Regions from separate parts of the Homo sapiens genome. Here all the other regions are linked to region 2. The links are contacts of gene promoters, found by promoter capture Hi-C in blood cells and fetal thymus (Javierre and others, 2016). All regions are on one chromosome and are shown on one strand. The core of a region is centred on a gene start or on the middle of the fragment in contact, and the rest is flanking DNA. Distances in the headings are between cores, read along the strand shown. Region 1 has its middle 300 kb from the start of GTSCR1. Region 2 holds the start of CBLN2 (cerebellin 2 precursor). Region 3 has its middle 250 kb from the start of GTSCR1. Region 4 has its middle 29 kb from the start of GTSCR1.

Evidence for each region. Contacts are between HindIII fragments. The CHiCAGO score rates a contact against its expected background, and 5 or more counts as called.
Region 1: a contact is called between a fragment that was not itself captured here and the fragment with the promoter of CBLN2 in region 2, in 3 of 17 cell types (M2 macrophages, M1 macrophages and endothelial precursors). The highest score is 12.3, in M2 macrophages.
Region 3: a contact is called between a fragment that was not itself captured here and the fragment with the promoter of CBLN2 in region 2, in 1 of 17 cell types (M2 macrophages). The highest score is 6.2, in M2 macrophages.
Region 4: a fragment that was not itself captured here is called in contact with the fragment with the promoter of CBLN2 in region 2 in 1 of 17 cell types (endothelial precursors); the score reaches 7.6 in endothelial precursors.

The regions. Positions count from the first base shown.
Region 1 is chr18:70,949,105-70,953,151 of GRCh38, reverse strand. No RefSeq gene overlaps it. Among named protein-coding and RNA genes, the nearest start is that of GTSCR1, 300 kb to the right of the region's middle. The HindIII fragment of the contact is 1,665 bases long and covers 1,007-2,671 here.
Region 2 is chr18:72,541,851-72,546,295 of GRCh38, reverse strand. CBLN2 (cerebellin 2 precursor) reads left to right here and starts at 1,954. Exons shown (of 5, transcript NM_182511.4): 1 at 1,954-2,319; 2 at 2,766-2,810; 3 at 3,970-4,445. The coding sequence starts at 4,136. The HindIII fragment of the contact is 3,863 bases long and covers 1-2,082 here.
Region 3 is chr18:70,894,178-70,898,499 of GRCh38, reverse strand. No RefSeq gene overlaps it. Among named protein-coding and RNA genes, the nearest start is that of GTSCR1, 250 kb to the right of the region's middle. The HindIII fragment of the contact is 4,054 bases long and covers 51-4,104 here.
Region 4 is chr18:70,619,443-70,623,715 of GRCh38, reverse strand. No RefSeq gene overlaps it. Among named protein-coding and RNA genes, the nearest start is that of GTSCR1, 29 kb to the left of the region's middle. The HindIII fragment of the contact is 654 bases long and covers 2,675-3,328 here.

The DNA of each region.
Region 1 (4,047 bases), core at 590-3,089, 1.6 Mb after region 2:
CACACTGCTACAAATAACTACATGAGACTGGGTAATTTATAAAGAAAAGAGGTTTAATTGACTTACAGTTCTGCATGGCTGGGGAGGCCTCAGGAAACTTAAAATCATGGAGGAAGGCAAAAGCAGAAGCAAGGCACCATCTTACATGGCAGCAGGAGGGTGAGCAAACAAAGGAGGAAGTGCCACACACTTTCCAATAATCAGATCCCATGAGAACTCACTCACTATCATGAGAACAGCAAGGGGTATGTCCGCCCCCAAGATTCAATCACCTCCCAGCAGGCTCCTCCCCCAACACGTGGGGATTACAATTCTAGATGAGATTTGGGTGGGAACACAGAGCCAAACCATAATACCCCTGTTCCTTTATTAAGCCCTTTATTGCTGGACTACATACATCAGCTTGTGTTTTTCTGGCTGAATTCTGATGGCCACATGTGGGAATCCTTAGGCAAGTGGGAAGATGATAGAAGGGACATGCTTGCTCTGTCAGGCACCCTTTCTCTACAGATGAACACTGAGCAATATGTGGGAGAAGTTGGGAAGAAATGGGATTCTAAATTTGAGAATTCACTTAAAAAGAGTGAGACAGAAAGGTTCCTGGTTCCAGAACCTGAGCCAGGAGTCAAATAGGATACTGGACGGAAACACTGGTGTATTAGAGCTAGAATAAAATTCTTAAGGGGAAGACAAATCAGGGAGAAGCTGGCTCAGAACACCATGACTGACACAAGAAGATTTAGGAAAAAGGCTCCCTGTCCCACCCACAAAAGGAGGGGTGAGGGACAAAGGAAAATAGAGAAGTTAGTTCAGCTGAGGAAATAGATTACATTGCAGAAGCCAGAGTGAAGATACTTTCCATTAGAAATAGCACCAACTACCTTGATAGGATTTGAAAAATCATTTCTATATAGGGCATTAAAATATTTTTCCCCATTCTCCCCAGCCTGAAGAGCCTCAGTTCCTGTGTAGCCCACAAATGCCATGGATGTCAACATCTCAAGCTTCCATTTTGGGTGTCCTTCTTCCTTTCCTATTCACTTCCATAAAATTTTTTAAATATCAAAACACAAGTTGCACTGCCATCTACTTCATCTAAGCAGTACAGTGAGCAGGAATTTTTTAAAAACCTTCAATAAAAGTGATAGAAGCAAAACTTGTATCATCTGATGAAATGCAGTATGATGCAGTAACTCCCAAATACGTCTAACAGCTCACTTTCCTTCCGAAGTCTCAACTACTCAAATGCACACAGTGCATACATTTTTATGAACTTTATAAAATTTGCTATGAATAGTGTTAAAATTATCTTTAAGTGACAAGGCAACCTATGGAATGAAGAAAATATTTGCAAATTATATATCTGATAAGGTGTTAATATACTGAGTACATAAAAAATTCCTACAACTCATCCACACACAAAAATCAACCCAATTAGAAAGCAGGCAACAGACTTGAATAGACGTTTCTCCAAGGACAATACACAAATGGTCAACAAGGCTATGAAAAGATGCCCAGTGTCACTAATCATCATAGAAATGCAAATCAAAACTCTAACATCACCTTACATCCATCAGGATAGCTACTATGAAAAAAAAAACAGGGGAAGATATGAAGAAATTGGAACTTTTGTATGCTCTTGGTGGGATGATAAAATGGCAAAATTGGTATGGAAAACCATATTGAGATTCCTCAAAAAGTTAAAAATAAAATTACCAAATGATCAAGCAATCTCATCTTTGGACTTATATCTAAAATAATTGAAAGCCGGGTTTTGAATAGAGATGTTTTCGCACACCCATGTTCATACTAGCACTATTCATAACAGCCAAATGGTATCAGCAACACAAACATCTATCAAAACATAAATGGTGTATACCTATGAAGAAATATTATTCAGCTTTAAATAAGACAGAAATCCTGTCACCTGCTACAACAAGGATGAATTCTGGCAACATATGCCAACTCCTCCATTATCCCTACTCGCAGAGCCTGCTAATCACCATTCTACTTTCTATTTCTATGAATTTTCCTGTTTCCAACTCATATAAGTGGAATCATCCAGTATTTATTTTTTTTGTGACTAGCTTATTTCACATGGCATATGTTCATCCTTGTTGTGGTAATAGAGGAGTTGTTTAATAGGTACTGAGTTTGAGTTTTGCAAGATGAAAACTTCCTGCATACACATTTCACAACAATGTGAATATTCCTAACACTACTGAGTTGTACATTTAGACTGGTCGAGATGGTAAACTTCATGTTACTTTTTACCATAATTAATAAAAATAGCTTAAAATAATCTTTAAGAACATCTCAGGAAAGATTTTGCACAGAATAAGGTGCATGATTCCTTTCAGACCTGGAAAATATGGCTCTTCTGTTAGTTAAATTTGCTAATGTCTCTTTTTTTTCTCCAGAGACCATCATCAGCTCAAATGTTTAACACATATTTGCTGAGATGCTACGTTATTCTTGGCACTCAGTATATTACAATGAAGAAAACACAGTCCTTACTGTCAGCACCTCACAATCAACTAAGTGAACAGATAATTATAACATTATAATTACAAGGAAAAGGAATACAATACAAGGTGAGAAGTTCAATGATGAAAGTGTATAGGCAACATGAATAGAAGATTATTAATTATCAGGACATACAATGAAAGCTTTGGAGAGGACTTAAAGCCAATCAAATTTACCAGGCAGATGGGAGGGAAGGGGGATAAGGGATTCTAGCAAAGAGAACAGCATCAATAGATGAATAAACATACAGTGTTCAAGGAACTTCAAGTCTTTCCGTGTTGCTTGATGTTGCAGGGCAAGGAGAAAAAAAGACAAAAATTTGCAGCAAAAAGTAGGGACTAGGTAATGGGGAGCCTTGTTATTTATACGAAGAAACTTGGCTTTCATATTGTTAGCAATGTGAATCCTCAGGGAGTTTTCAGTAGGGCAGAGAGCTATAAGCTCAATGTGGGGCAGAAAGTATAATATCAAACTTTTATTTTAGGAAAATCACACTGGCAACAGTGTACATTATAGTTTTTGGAAGAAAACACTATGAAAGGGAAAGGTATCAATAAGAAAACTCTTAAAACATTCCAGATTAAGGATATTGAAATAGTAATTTAAGGCAAATAGGCACATACCATGAGGGAAATTTTGAGAAACAGTTATGGAGTGAAATTTACAGGATGTAATATTTAGTTTGGCATTCTAGAAAAGGAAAAGAGAAATCTATGGTTCCTCATTGGTTCTTAACTTCAGCACCTTCCACAGAAGAAAGTAATATAGGAGAGAAGTAACTTTGGAGGATGAATAACGAGGGGATATAGGAGGCTGGGGAACAAGCAAATGACACATTGAGTTTGGGCATCTAGAATAGAGACTCCTGAGGAGCATGCAGACAAACAAGTGCAGAAGCAGTTGAATGCATGACTCTGGACCTCAAGGGCAAGATTGGGACTAGAGGTGGAGATTTGAGATTCATAGATATGAAAGATGGCATTCCCTAGAATGTAATGGTAGAAAAAGATGAAAAAGTACAGAGAAATATATATTCTATGAATGCAACAATTAAAGGTGTCAAGAAAGAAAAGTGCCTAGCAAACAAAATTATAATATGCGGAAGAAGTATTGTAAAGCTCTCAATATTACACGGAATTATCTTACCCAATGAAAACATCATTCATTAGTAGTACTAATCTGAATCTCTTCTCAAGTTTACCTGGAAGAAGAGCTATGAATTTTATATAAGTTTCTTGGACAAAAGACAGGTGTAGGTAAGATGGAATCATAATGGTTGTTAGCAGAGGGCGGTCACTTTAAGATGTCATGAATACTGAGTGCTTCAGGTGCATCAACTGCATCTCATAGGAAATTGCTTACTGTTTAAAGAATTTGTGTGTTTTGAATATTAGCTTCCTCTGGGCCATTCCATTTCCTTCTATTTATATTCAACATATAGAATCTTATTTTATTTCTTGTCTAATATGTCTCATAGGTAAGGAACTTAATCATCAATGTACACATTTTATGAATTCTGTT
Region 2 (4,445 bases), core at 705-3,204:
CCGGCTAATTTTTTGTATTTTTAGTAGAGACAAGGTTTCACCGTGTTAGCCAGGATGGTCTCAATCTCCTGACCTCGTGATCCGCCCGCCTCGGCCTCCCAAAGTGCTGGGATTACAGGCGTGAACCACCGCGCCCGGCCGACTTTAATATCTTCTTATGTGAAACAACTAATTAATCAATGAATAAATAATCTGCTTCTCTGTCAATTTGCTATCTTTTATGGTTTCTTCTAAAATAATCTCTAGTCTAAATTAAACCTAACCTGTTTATTATATAAGAATGCTTATAGCTTTTTTCAATAACTTAGTCCAATAAGTCACATAGATTAAAGGTGTCTCTACATATATATAATCTAAACATTTATGTTGCCACATAGAAAGTGGTTTTCTTTTTTCCCCCAGTGTTGATGACGATAGTTCATGTGTGCTTGCATTTATATTAGTCAAAAGGAATGCTTACAGTATTGAGGAAAGATGCTGAGTAGAGTTGCTATTTAAGGACTTACAGATGTGTGAGAGGTATTGCTATAAATTAGCATCCCCAGATTGGTCTAATTATGTCTGTGTCTCACATGTCTTTCAAATATCTAGTGTTCTTTGCTATCTATGCTTACACTTAAATCAGTTCTCTCTATGGTGGAATGATGGATGGGGGCTTATTTTGACAGTAAGACACTATCACATGGATGAAATAGTGGAATAAAATAACTATTTGAAAGTAAGAGTGCATTTCCACTCTGTTAAACTCACAAAAATGGTAACAAAACATGGCAAACTGTGGTGGATTTGAAAAAGCATCCTGGCAAATGCCAGTACCTATCTCCAGCATGGTACAAAAGTGTTGAAGTATGACATTTACTTTACAGTGAGTATAGCTTAGGAGGATGAGAGATTTTGGAAGTATTGTATATTTTCTACTATTTTGCATGCTAGGTTAACCAGGAAGCATTTGGCTCAGAGGTACTTTTAATCACATCCTTACACCCATACTAAATATTTTGTCTCACGCAGCAGTGTGCAATGACTTTCTGCATATCCATTCCAGTTGAACTGATCGTGAATTTCATCTCCAGTGCTTAGAGATGATGCCTTGGCAGTTCTGTTCTAAATGGGGAGAATAGCGGTGAGAGGGCCTATGGGAAAATAAGGCCTTCAAAACCCCCTACCTGAAAAGACCTCCGTTTGTTAAGGTGGAATCAGACACTGCTGAAATCTTCAAAGGGGAGAGGGTTCGGTGTGAAGTCTGGAGGAATAAGAAATACAGATGCTCTAATGAACAGCACTGGCTAACTTTATTATTATTATTATTATTATTATTATTAGCCTATCAGAAAAGACGTATAATGCATGTCAAAGGACAAAGTATTTTTTAACCATGTTTTAAAAAAAAATCAGGCTATAGAGTGTAGATTTAAATATTGATTGTTTTTTAGACCAGCATAAACTATACGGCCCAGTTGTCTGTGCAAACGTTGTGCCGACGATAATAACCGATGATAACCTCACCGCAGCATTTATCATCTTGGCAGAGTTGTTTGTTAGATCAGTGAAGATCCGGAAAATCAGGCGGCGTGCTGCTTGGTTTTGCCAGGAGTAAAAGTACTGAAGGATACCGGGAAGACTGGTCATTATTGTTCTTCTTGTGGTTGCTATCATTATTATTATTATTATATTATTATTATTGCAGAGGTCAGCGCTGCTTTTGGGGTGAAAGAAGACCATCAGCAAACCTCAGCCTTGCGGCCAGGACTCCCCCGTCTTCTGTCGGAGTCCGCCGGTCCGCAGCCTGCGGCAGGGAGGCCCGGGCACCCGCAGGTGGCGCCCCACGTCCGTGTTTGCGCCCTCAGCCGAGCTCCAGGCGCAGCTGGGAAACCCAGCGCGTCTCCCCGGGTCCTTTGAGCGAGCGCGGACACCGCAATTTAATAAATAAGCGCAAGCGCCAGCCGCTCCACCAGTCCGAGGTCCAGAGGAGCAGACACACAGACCCGGGCCGGAGGCCCCTCTTCTAGCCCTGCGGGAACCGGACAGTTCCCCAACTGGGACTCTGGAACCACAGCTCCTAAATCATCAAATTCTCAAGCTTTTTTTTTCCCTCTCTTCGTCCCAGCCATCCCAGTCTTCTTCTTCTTTTTTTTTTTTTTAACTTATTGTTTTTTTCGCTCCTGTCATTATGAAAGTGGTCACGCCATTCAATATTAAGACTTGGAGGGAATTGGGGAAAGAAAAGAAAGAATCTAAAAGAAGAGAAGCGACCGGTGCTTTTAAGGGTGTCTAATTTTCAAAAGAGACGTCTGGGAGTATTTTGCTCTGGGCGTTTGGGTGAGCAGGACCGGGGCGTTGGAGGGTGCGGCGGGCTTGGGAGCAGGGAAGGTTCCGAGTCCTAGGGAGGCGGCAGCGCTCGGCTATGCCCTCTGGAGACTGGCGGGGCTGCGGGGCCGAGGGGACCCGCGAGGGAGCCGCGCTGCGGACGCGCTGAGCGCGGGAGCTCGAGGGGCCCCAGGCAGCGGTGCGGGCGCGAAGCCCAGGGGTTGGAGGCACCTGGGCGCACAGCGCGGGGCGCTGAGCCGGGCGAGACGCGGGGTTCCCGGTCCCGGGCGCGGCGCCTAAGCGGGCGCGCGGGGCGTGGTGCACCCCTGAAGCGGCGCAGGCTGGCGCGGGAAAGCGGCAGGGCGGGGCGGCGCGGTTATTGGCCACGCGCTGGGAGCAGGGTCGCGCTCCGTGTCCTCCTCCCGACAGCTCCCACTCGCCTCATTTTCTCTAAGCAGAGCAACTTCGCGGACAGCGGAGCTCGCCCAGCATGGATGTTCCAGGTAACCACCCCCGACCTGCCCTCCCCTCCGCATGCAAGCGCCTTCTGCGTGGATTTTAACGAAGACTCTCCCTGGTCCAGATCGAGGGGTGGAGGAGGTGGAGAGAGAGAAGGGAAATCATGTAGGATCGGGGCTGCGGACAGCGGATATTTATCAAGAGCCAACTTCTCTGTTCTTAGAAAGAATACTGGAAGAGTTAATGGGAGGCTGTGGGCGGCGAGGGGGCGGCTTCTCTGCGTGTCTCTGGGCTGGTATTGAAATGGCCTGTCTGCTTTCCTGGGAGGAGCGGGGACGGGGCAAAAGTGCAGACGGGCGCGTAAGTTCGCAGAAACCTGCAGGGGCTGCCGCCCCGCTGAGAAAGAGAGAATCCCCGTGGTCTGGAAACCAGAGCTGGAGAATAACCCAAGCCTGGGATTCCGTCGTTGGAATCGGTCCTTCGCCTAAGAGAGGAATCCCAGGGGTTTCACCCAAGGGGGCTCGCTAGTGGCTGCAGGGACCTTGGAAGTAGGTGTTTGGCTTTACTGCCCGTGTGTGTGTGTGTGTGTGTGTGTGTGTGTGTGTGTGTGTGTGTGTGTGGTGTCATTTCCCCCCTAGTAATCTTATTCGCCCCAAGGAGATTCCTGGGATTTGTTCTGTGGGTGGAAAACAGATAAAATCTGTACCAAAGGGACTTAAATGGACTTTAAAAACATCTCGAGGATTGAAAAATAGAGGATAGCAGGGAAACAAGGGATAGGAAAAGGGTTCCTTGGTGCTGCTCCAAGGAAATGCTGTGAGATGAAGGCGAGAAGGCAAGCATTCGTAGGTTTTTCTTTGCCTGCGTCTTAGCCCCCTCCGCGCTGGTGAATGGGCGGGGTGGCGGTGACGCCTTCTGAGGGTCTCGGGGCCCGTCTTAGCGACGAGGACCTGCAGAAGCGCGGCCCCCTCCCTCGTCGCAGCCCCGCGCGCTGCTCGGGAGCCTTCAGGGATGCGCTGCCAGCTGCGCCCGGGCGTTTCTCCGGACCTGTTGTGCCAGATCGGAAAGCGGGTTGGCTGTGCGCGGGACCAAGGGGGTGGCCTTCGGGGAGAACCCCCGAGCCGCAGGCACCTGCTCCCAGTCCCCCTTCTTCCCGGTGGCTCCACCTCCCGGTGTAAGGCTTTGGGTTCTGTGCCCTGACAGGTTCACAGGCGCCTTTCTTCTGAGAACGACCCTGGCCTTGAACGTCAGAGCCGGGGACGAAGGCCCCCGGAGGCTGCTGCGAGCTCCGCGCGTTCCTTCGCGCCCTTCCGCGCCGCTCGCGCCGGCGCCGGCCTCCACCCCCGCGCGCCGCCTCCCACCAGTCCCGATGCAGGCGCCCGGCCGGGGGCCACTCGGGCTGCGGCTGATGATGCCCGGGCGCCGGGGGGCGCTGCGCGAGCCGGGCGGCTGCGGATCCTGCCTGGGGGTGGCGCTGGCCCTGCTGTTGCTGCTACTGCCCGCCTGCTGCCCCGTGCGGGCGCAGAACGACACGGAGCCCATCGTGCTGGAGGGCAAGTGCCTGGTGGTGTGCGACTCCAGCCCGTCGGCGGACGGCGCCGTCACCTCCTCCCTAGGCATCTCCGTGCGCTCCGGCAGCGCCAAGGTGGCCTTCTCCGCCACGCGGAGCACCAACCACG
Region 3 (4,322 bases), core at 828-3,327, 1.6 Mb after region 2:
AGGAAAACCTAGTAACATTCAGCAACACCTAGTCTATTGCAAAATAAGCTTTTGGTATACTAGTTACAACTTTACAATCCATCACCCACAGAAAAGCTAGAGTAATCATCTAGAATGCTAATGTGAAATATGGCCATGTCCACCCCTGCTTGAATCCTTGCAGTGGTTTTCATCCCCCCAAACAGTATAAGCTCCCAAATATCATATAGAATGCCTTGAGTGATCTGACTCCCCATCTCCTTCTTCGATCTCATCCCTCATTCCTGACTGTGAACTTTTTTTTTCAGGCAAAGGACCAACCATGTGTACAGCCTGAGGGGGAATACTGAGTGGAAAGGAAGAAGTTAAATATATATGAGAGAGGGGATGAATAATAGAGTATTATTGTGGAGAAAGTTGGAGGTGGGTTTAAATAGGAAGACACAGCTCACACTCTGGTCATGACATAATGAAGGTAAAGATGATCTTATGGAAATTAAATTAAACGTAGGGGGTGGGAAAGAAGCAGGATTATTGCTGAAGGCCCCAATATTCTTACTGAAGTAGTAAAAAGATAATCTGCTGAGGATGAAGGGAGTAGGGATTGAGTTTGGGTTTTGAAGAGCAGGGCAAAAATTTGAGATAGTTGCTCGCGCAAATAAGAGGTAAAACTTTTCAAGGTTTAACTGAGGACCAATCTAAGGCAAGACCCTTGTCTGTAGGGTCATGTGTTTTAGCTGAACAGAATTCAACCACAAAGGGCCTGAACTATCAGAGTAGAGAAAGGGAATTATTTCATTTCTCAAAAGTTATGATTTAACTAGACTATTCAGTGAAAAGTGGTTGCCAAGACAATTGAAAAAATATAGTTTGTATCATTAAAAAAATAGAATCATGAATGTTCATGGATAAACCAAAGGAGAGACAAAGATACGGCTTGGAGATATTGATAGTCACTAGGTGGAAAAATCACTCTGATGTCAAATATTGTACAGAGCCCTGGAATATTAGGGTGGTTGTGTTAATACAATGAACTTTTAATATTTACCATTTCTGAGGTTATTAGACAACTTTTAAAGAATAGAAAGTTCCAGCCACTATTTCCTAAAATCTCCTATAATTATAGTAGTAGTTGGAGTAAAGAGAGAGATTTTGAAATTGTCTCCAAGAGATGAGTGAACAGAGAGAGTGTATAATTTAGGGTATTTTTATTTTAAGTAATAGAACAACCTATGAAATCTACAGAATGTATTGACTCATGAATTTGAAAAACTGTGATAGTGCTGGCTTCAGAGATTTAAGGGCTCAAGTCATATACAAGTTGGATTTCTCGTGGTGACTCATGCCTGTAATCCCAGGACTTTGGGAGGCCAAGGTGGGATGATCACTTGGGGTCAGGAGTTCAAGACCAGCCTGGCCAACATGGCAAAACCCCGTCTCTACTAAAAATACAAAAATTAGCTGGGCATGGTGATGCATGCCTGTAATCCCAGCTACTCGGGAGGCTGAGGCAGGAGAATCGCTTGAACCCAGGAGATGGAGGTTCCAATGAGCCAAGATCACGCCATTGCACTCCAGCCTGGGCGACAGAGCAAGACTCCATCTAAAAAAAAATAATAAATTCAAAAAAAAAAGTTGGATTTCTCTTAAGTTCTCTTTTGCTAGCCTTTGCAGGTTGACATTAGATTCCACCTGGTAGCAAAAAGTCTGTAGCATCCCAAACCTCGTTATCATATCATGTGCAGGTCTTGCAGGAAAAGCACCTCATATGAAACACCTAGAGTTCATTCTAATTGTTCTCAACCCTAAAACAAGCACTGTATTCAGTGAGGAACCTGAAGAATGCATAGAAAAGAAAGAGGAGGAGGTGGTGGCTAAAAAAGGATTACAGGGAGATCTGTGGGATCTATGGGACAAAGCCAGAGTTTATCTAGGAAAAGAGCATAGAGATAATTCTTTGGAAGGATAGTAATGACCAAAACTTCAGGTAATGGGCCACACTGAGGTTTGGTTTTGTGGAAGTTGAGCAAGATCCGGTGAAAAGGAGAAATTCTGCAAGATATCATTCAACCAACAAATGTCTTGATGAATATTACATGTTGTTTTTGTGATAGGATTATATTTAAAAGTGTCTTTGTTGTAGGATTATATTTAAAAGAAGTATAAAATACAGTTCCTGATTTCAAGTCCATAAGCTCTAGAATTTCATCATGGGCTAGTAGAACTTTCTACAGTGATGGAAATGTTCTATCTGTGATGTCCAATATGGTAGCCATTATCCACATGTGGTTAAGTACTTGCAATATGGTTACCATGACTAAGAAACTGAATTTGGAATTGTATTTTATTATAATTAATTGATTTATATTTAAATATAAGTAGCCACACATGACTAGTATCTAGAGTATAAGACAGCACAGCTCTAGAACATACTCTCATATAAAATAAATGGTAAAATTTACAACATAAAGTAGAATTAAGTTAAACAGTGTGAAAGCCTCCAAGTTTTGTAAGCAAAGATTTAAAGAGGGTTTTAGATTTATACTTGTATGAGTAAGAATTTAAACATAAAAATTCCTCCAAATTCCCATAGGTGGTTTGATTAAAAGCTGAAAGAAGTCATCTCTCTGTTGAGTATGCTTTTCCATATGAGAATGCAGCTGGCTCAGCCTTGGTATGGGACATTCACAGCACAGAAGTTAAAGTTCTGGTAATAAAGGAGAAAATCATTTGAAGTTTGGACATTCACAGTTCTGAAACCAAGGACAGGTGGCACACACATCCAAACGTGAACCTCTTCCAAGGATACCACAGAGAGTTTCCTCCACTGGCAATACAAAACTGGTCATGTTTTTTCTTCAAGTGTCTTGTGAGAACTACTCCTCCAATGTGAAAGTAAATGAGAATTTCTTGTACTATTTTTATCCCTTCTACCTGACAGATACTGCTTCTACAGATTCAGTTATTGGTAAGTGGTGTGATCAGACAAAGTTGGAATTGCACACCCAGTCACTTAGATTATTTGGATAGCATTGATTCATAGGTGACTGCTTTTTTTTTTTTTTTTCCTACAACCAGTTCTAAAATTGTCACCAGATGAAGAATTGAATGAATGTAACAAGGCTGTAAAGAAAATGTTTATTCTTATTTTATTTCTTATTTAACTAGTTGGAAATAAGACACAGTCAATTATTATTATTTTTTGATTACCTGAGCTAAAAGGAGGAGAGGACACTTACATATTTGTTGGTGTTTATTGAAACATTTTCCTATGTACCAGTCATTTTGCTATACATCATGTATTTATAAACATGTAATTATCCAAGCAATGGTATGAGGGAGGCCCTTCTACCATGTTCTTTAGAGAAGAGGTAACTAGTGAAGTGACTGGTTAAACAACATGTCAAGATCAAGACCTTGATGTGATGGAACTAGGACTCAAGAGGGCAGTCTGTGTCTGGAGCTTTTGATTTTAAACATTATATTGCTTCTCTCAATTTATGCATACCAGCATATGCACACACACAACCACGGAAAGAGGACCTAAAATTGGTTTTGCAGAAAGAGGCAATATACCCAATCAATCTCTTTGTTGGCTATTCTCCTCAAGTAGACTCCGTTCATTACCCTGTACCTTTTTTCTCTCCTCCCAGCTGGCACTCAGTAAGAACTAGTAGGATAGCCTAGGGGAAGATATTTGGGTCACAGATAATCCATAAATTTAATACGCAATTTATAGAGAAAGAGGAATTATTCATGTTGGTAAAGTGTTTTGCTGCTTATAACATATATTCTTTTGGGAAATCTAAGGGGTGATTTTTAAGGAGGTTCTAAATAAAATAATCCTAGCAAAAGAGAAAAATGCAAAATGAGACTTCAGCCATGCAAAATGCAGCAATGACCAGGCCATTCCCAACCTGCATTTAACAATTTCAGCTAGAAAAGTTGGTTATCCTTAGTGAAATGCCACAGGCATTTACAATGAAAGAATATATTAAATGTCCTCTTTATGAATTACAATGTTAACGTTAAGCTAAGAAATTGGGAAAGGGAGCGAGTATTTAATCACAGCATTTACCTTTAGCAGGGTTTCATATAATAAGGAATAAATAGCTTAGTAAAGCTTCGTTTTTCTGGTTGTCCTCTTTAAGTCCAAGCCTGGTCAGTTTTATTTTTTCTATCTTATTTTATTTTATTGTGTGTAATAGTGTCTCGCCGTATCACCCAGGCTGGAGGGCAGTGGCGCGATCTCGGCTCCCAGCAACCTCCGCCTCCCGGGTTCCAGCGATCCTCCCGCTTCAGCCTCTGGAGTAGCTGGGACTACAGGCATGCACCACCACATC
Region 4 (4,273 bases), core at 1,752-4,251, 1.9 Mb after region 2:
ATGGACCCTGATCCAATGAGCCCAATGTCCCAGGCAAACAGTAGAGAGGCAGTAGAGGGCAGAGGCATCCCAGACAAGGAGGCAAGGAAGAGTATGCAGCACTTGCAGGGAGGAAGGGCTCGTTCATACTGTTAGAGGGCAGGGAATGCAGACAGCTTAGAAATCCCCGTAGGGACAGACCTGCACCCCAGTATCAGCCACACCAAGGAGTGGGCCTTTTTTCTGGAGGTAACAGGACACAAGTGAGTAATACGACCAAGTCATTTTTCCCCCATCTGGAGCACTGGAGGTGTCACAGCTGAAGGTGAAGAGATTAGTGAGGAAGCTGGGCAGTAGCCATGGCAGAGCATGAAGACAGCCTGACCTGGGCAGTGACTCAGCAGAGGAAGGCACAAAGATGCAGAGACCATCAGCAGAACAGATGGACACTGGCATGATGGGCCTGAGTCAGAAGACGAAGTGTAAATACCCGATGCTCTCATTCTGTGATCTGGGACATGAACGTAGTCTCTTTAACAGCTCCCATCTTGTAAAAGGGAGTGCTGATGTGTACACCACGAGATTGTCGTAAGCCATAAAACACATGATGTGAGTGGCAATGATCTGCAATCTGCAAAGGTCTGTATGGATGTGCAATGTACGTTACCTCCAAAGTACATGATTTCCCTGGAATGATTTGGGATGACTGCCTCACGCATCAGGGCTCCACACTGCTCCAGTGATAGATGACTTTCTCACTTCTAAAGCTATGAATTATTTTTGTCAGGGGGACCTCTTTCTTGGAAGGATCTTCTCATTTTTTTTACAAAAGAAAAAATATATATCTTTGGTCTTTAGAACTGTCCACGCTGGCTTGCTAGGTCCCTTCTGTGTCTGATGTCATTATGCCTATGTGTGCATAAAGGCATGCTATTCCTCCTGCAGGCTTCCTTGTGATCTTGATCATTATCCAGCTTCTAATAAAACCAGTCAGCACAGGAAGACCAGGGAGGACTGAATGGGTTCTTAATGCTATATAAGGTCTGAGTGTAGACAACTCTTCTACATTTTCCGGACAGCTAACATGTAACACTCAAAAGAGAATAAAAACTACTTAGGAATATTTCCTGTTCCTTCAGTCATTGTGGCCATGGCAATGCACGTTCAAATGATTTAAAATGTGACCATTTGGAAAATGATCTCTCACAGCTTGTTGTAGTTGTACATATATATTTCTGTCATATATATCTATATATTATATAGATATATTTGATATGGGTATACAGAGATATCATATATTTGATATATGTATATCTTTAAATTATTGTTCCTCTGTATTCTTTATGTCATTATAATTCCATCAAAAATGCTCCAAGAAATTATTCTGGGGTTAAAACACAAATAATGGACATTTTCAGGTATGACAGCAAATAGAGATATGCTCATACCTTTTGTTTGTTCACTTGTCAATATAAATCTGTCTGTACCAGTTTTTACTGGTCTCTTAGCTCACTTCTACATATCAGTTCTCTGCTTAGTAAGGCTGAAGCCAGAAAGCCATAAGTATTTCTCCGGTGTCCTCGTGATGTGGCCTCCTGTTGGATAGGAGGCAGCAGCAGGAAAACAGAAGGCTAGCAAATGAGAAATATCTTTGTCCTTTCTCCCTCCCTCCCTCTTTACTTCTCTCTGCCTGCCTGTGCCTCGGGCGGGGTCTCTGGAAGTTGCTGTGTTGCTGGCACTCCTCTGAGGCCCCTCCTCCACGGTGCCAGCACTGGCTAAGGTGTCCTTGTGGTCAGGTGCCCCTTCCTACAAGTTTCAGCACCCATTCAGGACCCCCTGCAGCATGCAGCATGTGTGTGTTCGACTCTGATAACAACAGCTCCTCCCTTTTCCTCCCTGAGATCTGTGGGCAATAACAGCTTCCTGCTGTTACCAAGCTCTTGCTGCCCACTTTCTGTTTTTTCATCTCCTCCAATATTTTTTAAGCTATTCTCTTGATTAAGCAACCTCCTTGCAGAATATCTAGGTTTTTATTTCCTTTAAAAGACCCTGACTTATATAGCAGTCAGTACCGGTAGTGATCCCAGGAAACAATCACTCAAAACTGAATTCCAGTATTGATCTGTTGACCTGTTCAAGCTTGCATAGAATGACCTCCTTATTTGCAGCAGAAAATAGGTATCTAGTAAACTGAGACTTGAAGTGGCATTATAATGACTTAATCACCTCTTGTAGCTTGAGGTCAAAATTCTGCTAAAGACAAGGCTTTGGGAAAGCAAGTGGCCACTTCATTTAACTGTAACTTTTAGTACTGATGATTCAAAGGGCTACAGTGTGGGGCAGTTACTTCTAAATGCACTCAAGATACAGGGAAAGAAAAGGATACACTCAGAGGTTAAACTCTCAGTTCAAGGTATGGTCAGAAAATCAAAGAATGTCTACAGTAGTGAAGATGTAAGGGTTTTCATTTGTTTGTTTGTTTAAGGTAGCTCTAAAACAAACAAATAAAAACCTCACATCTTATAGTCAGAATGCATTTAGGGCTGAGGATTATGCTAAAAACTAAATAGTACATTGTAATACAGATTTGAGAGGTGGGCACGTAGTAGGCCATAGAGCCAGAAGGGCAATGTGAATGTTTCAGCCGTAGGGGCCAAGGGAAAACCTCCCCTTCACCTAACAGGGTGTAGAAGCTTATATACCATCTTGAAATTACAGAGTGAATGGGGGCTTTGATCATGGCAAAACAAGTTATGGGAGAAAGAGAAGAGGAAGTCTGGCTAGCAAGGTGGCCTTGTTACATAACTGAAACCTCACAGGTAGCAGCCCTCAGAGACAAAGGATGGTAAATATTTCTTTCTGACCTTTAAGAGTATCAGACTCAGTTAATCTTTCCTAGATCTGGACAAGGGGAGACCTGGCTGCATCAATGCAGAGTCTCTGCAGATGCCACTCTCCCCACAAAAGACAGCTTTGCAGAGCCACTTCTGTTTGCTGGCTCAATGAATAACCATCTCAAAGGGTGTCAAAGAAGTACATTTGGTGGTAACATATTTGATTTCTTTCACAACTCACAGGGATCATTGGTGGTACCCAATAGACTCAGGAAAGAGAGAGATGAGCTGCCTACTGGATTGTTACCTGGCCTGTGTAATTGGATAGTCTCCAGTCTGGTGAGCAGAAACTAACTCGAGTGAGGACAACAGAGGGTCACAGTCTTTTACCCAGTATCAGAACAAGACCATCTCACAGAGGCAGAGTCCTTTTATTGGAGGGGAAGCTGACTTCTTTTGAGTTTGAATCCTGCTACATTGTCACTGGTGTCCATTATCAATCCTTTGTCTAAGCTTCCTCAAAAGGACCTGTGTCATATTCTTGAGCAGCTATACACTGGGTAGACAGAATGGCCCAGATTTTAGAATTTACTAAACACTTGCTCTGCACTGACACTAATCTCTAGGGAAAGTCATGGTGGTTTATTGTCAGAGGGGAAACTTACACAGTTTAGATAATAATGGAGTTTTAGCCCAAGTCTTTCTCATAATAGGTCCACAGACCCACCCTGCTGGAATGTGTACAGTTGCTGAAGGTATAATGGGTTATACACACTTAGCAGCAGCTGGAATCCTCACCTTGGTTGCATGACCTAAGCTAAGAAGGACCAAGTGGATGGCCCTGAGATATCACCACATTGCTACCAAATAGTAAAACCAAAGCAATATTATGCCCTTGGGGAAACTTATGAATTTAGTCGCACCATAAAAATACCATAAAAGACTTGAAAGAGGCAGTACGGATCATTAATTTTACATCTCCATTTAATCCACTCCTTTGGTCCAGACAGAAGTTAGATCATCTGTATAAAGAATAGACCAGGCGCAGTGGCTCATACCTGTAATCCCAGCACTTTGGGAGGCTGAGGCAGGCAGATCACAAGGTCAGGAGTTCGAGACCAGCCTGACCAACATGGTGAAACCTCATCTGTACTAAACATACAAAAAAAAAAAATTAGCTGGGCATGGTGGTGCATGCCTGTAATCCAAACTACTCAGGAGGCTGAAGCAGGAGCATCACTTGAACCTGGGAGGCAGAAATTGCAGTGAGCCGAGAGCACGCCATTGCACTCCAGCCTGGGCAACAGAGTGAGACTCCATCTCAAAAATAAATAAATAAATACAAAGATCTTTTTATCTTTGCATCTTGCTAGGAAGACGATTTTTTTATTGGCGTAAGATGGAAATTTGCTTATGAATAAAAGGCTGTGTACGGATTCCTAGTGCCAAAAAGGTAGGTT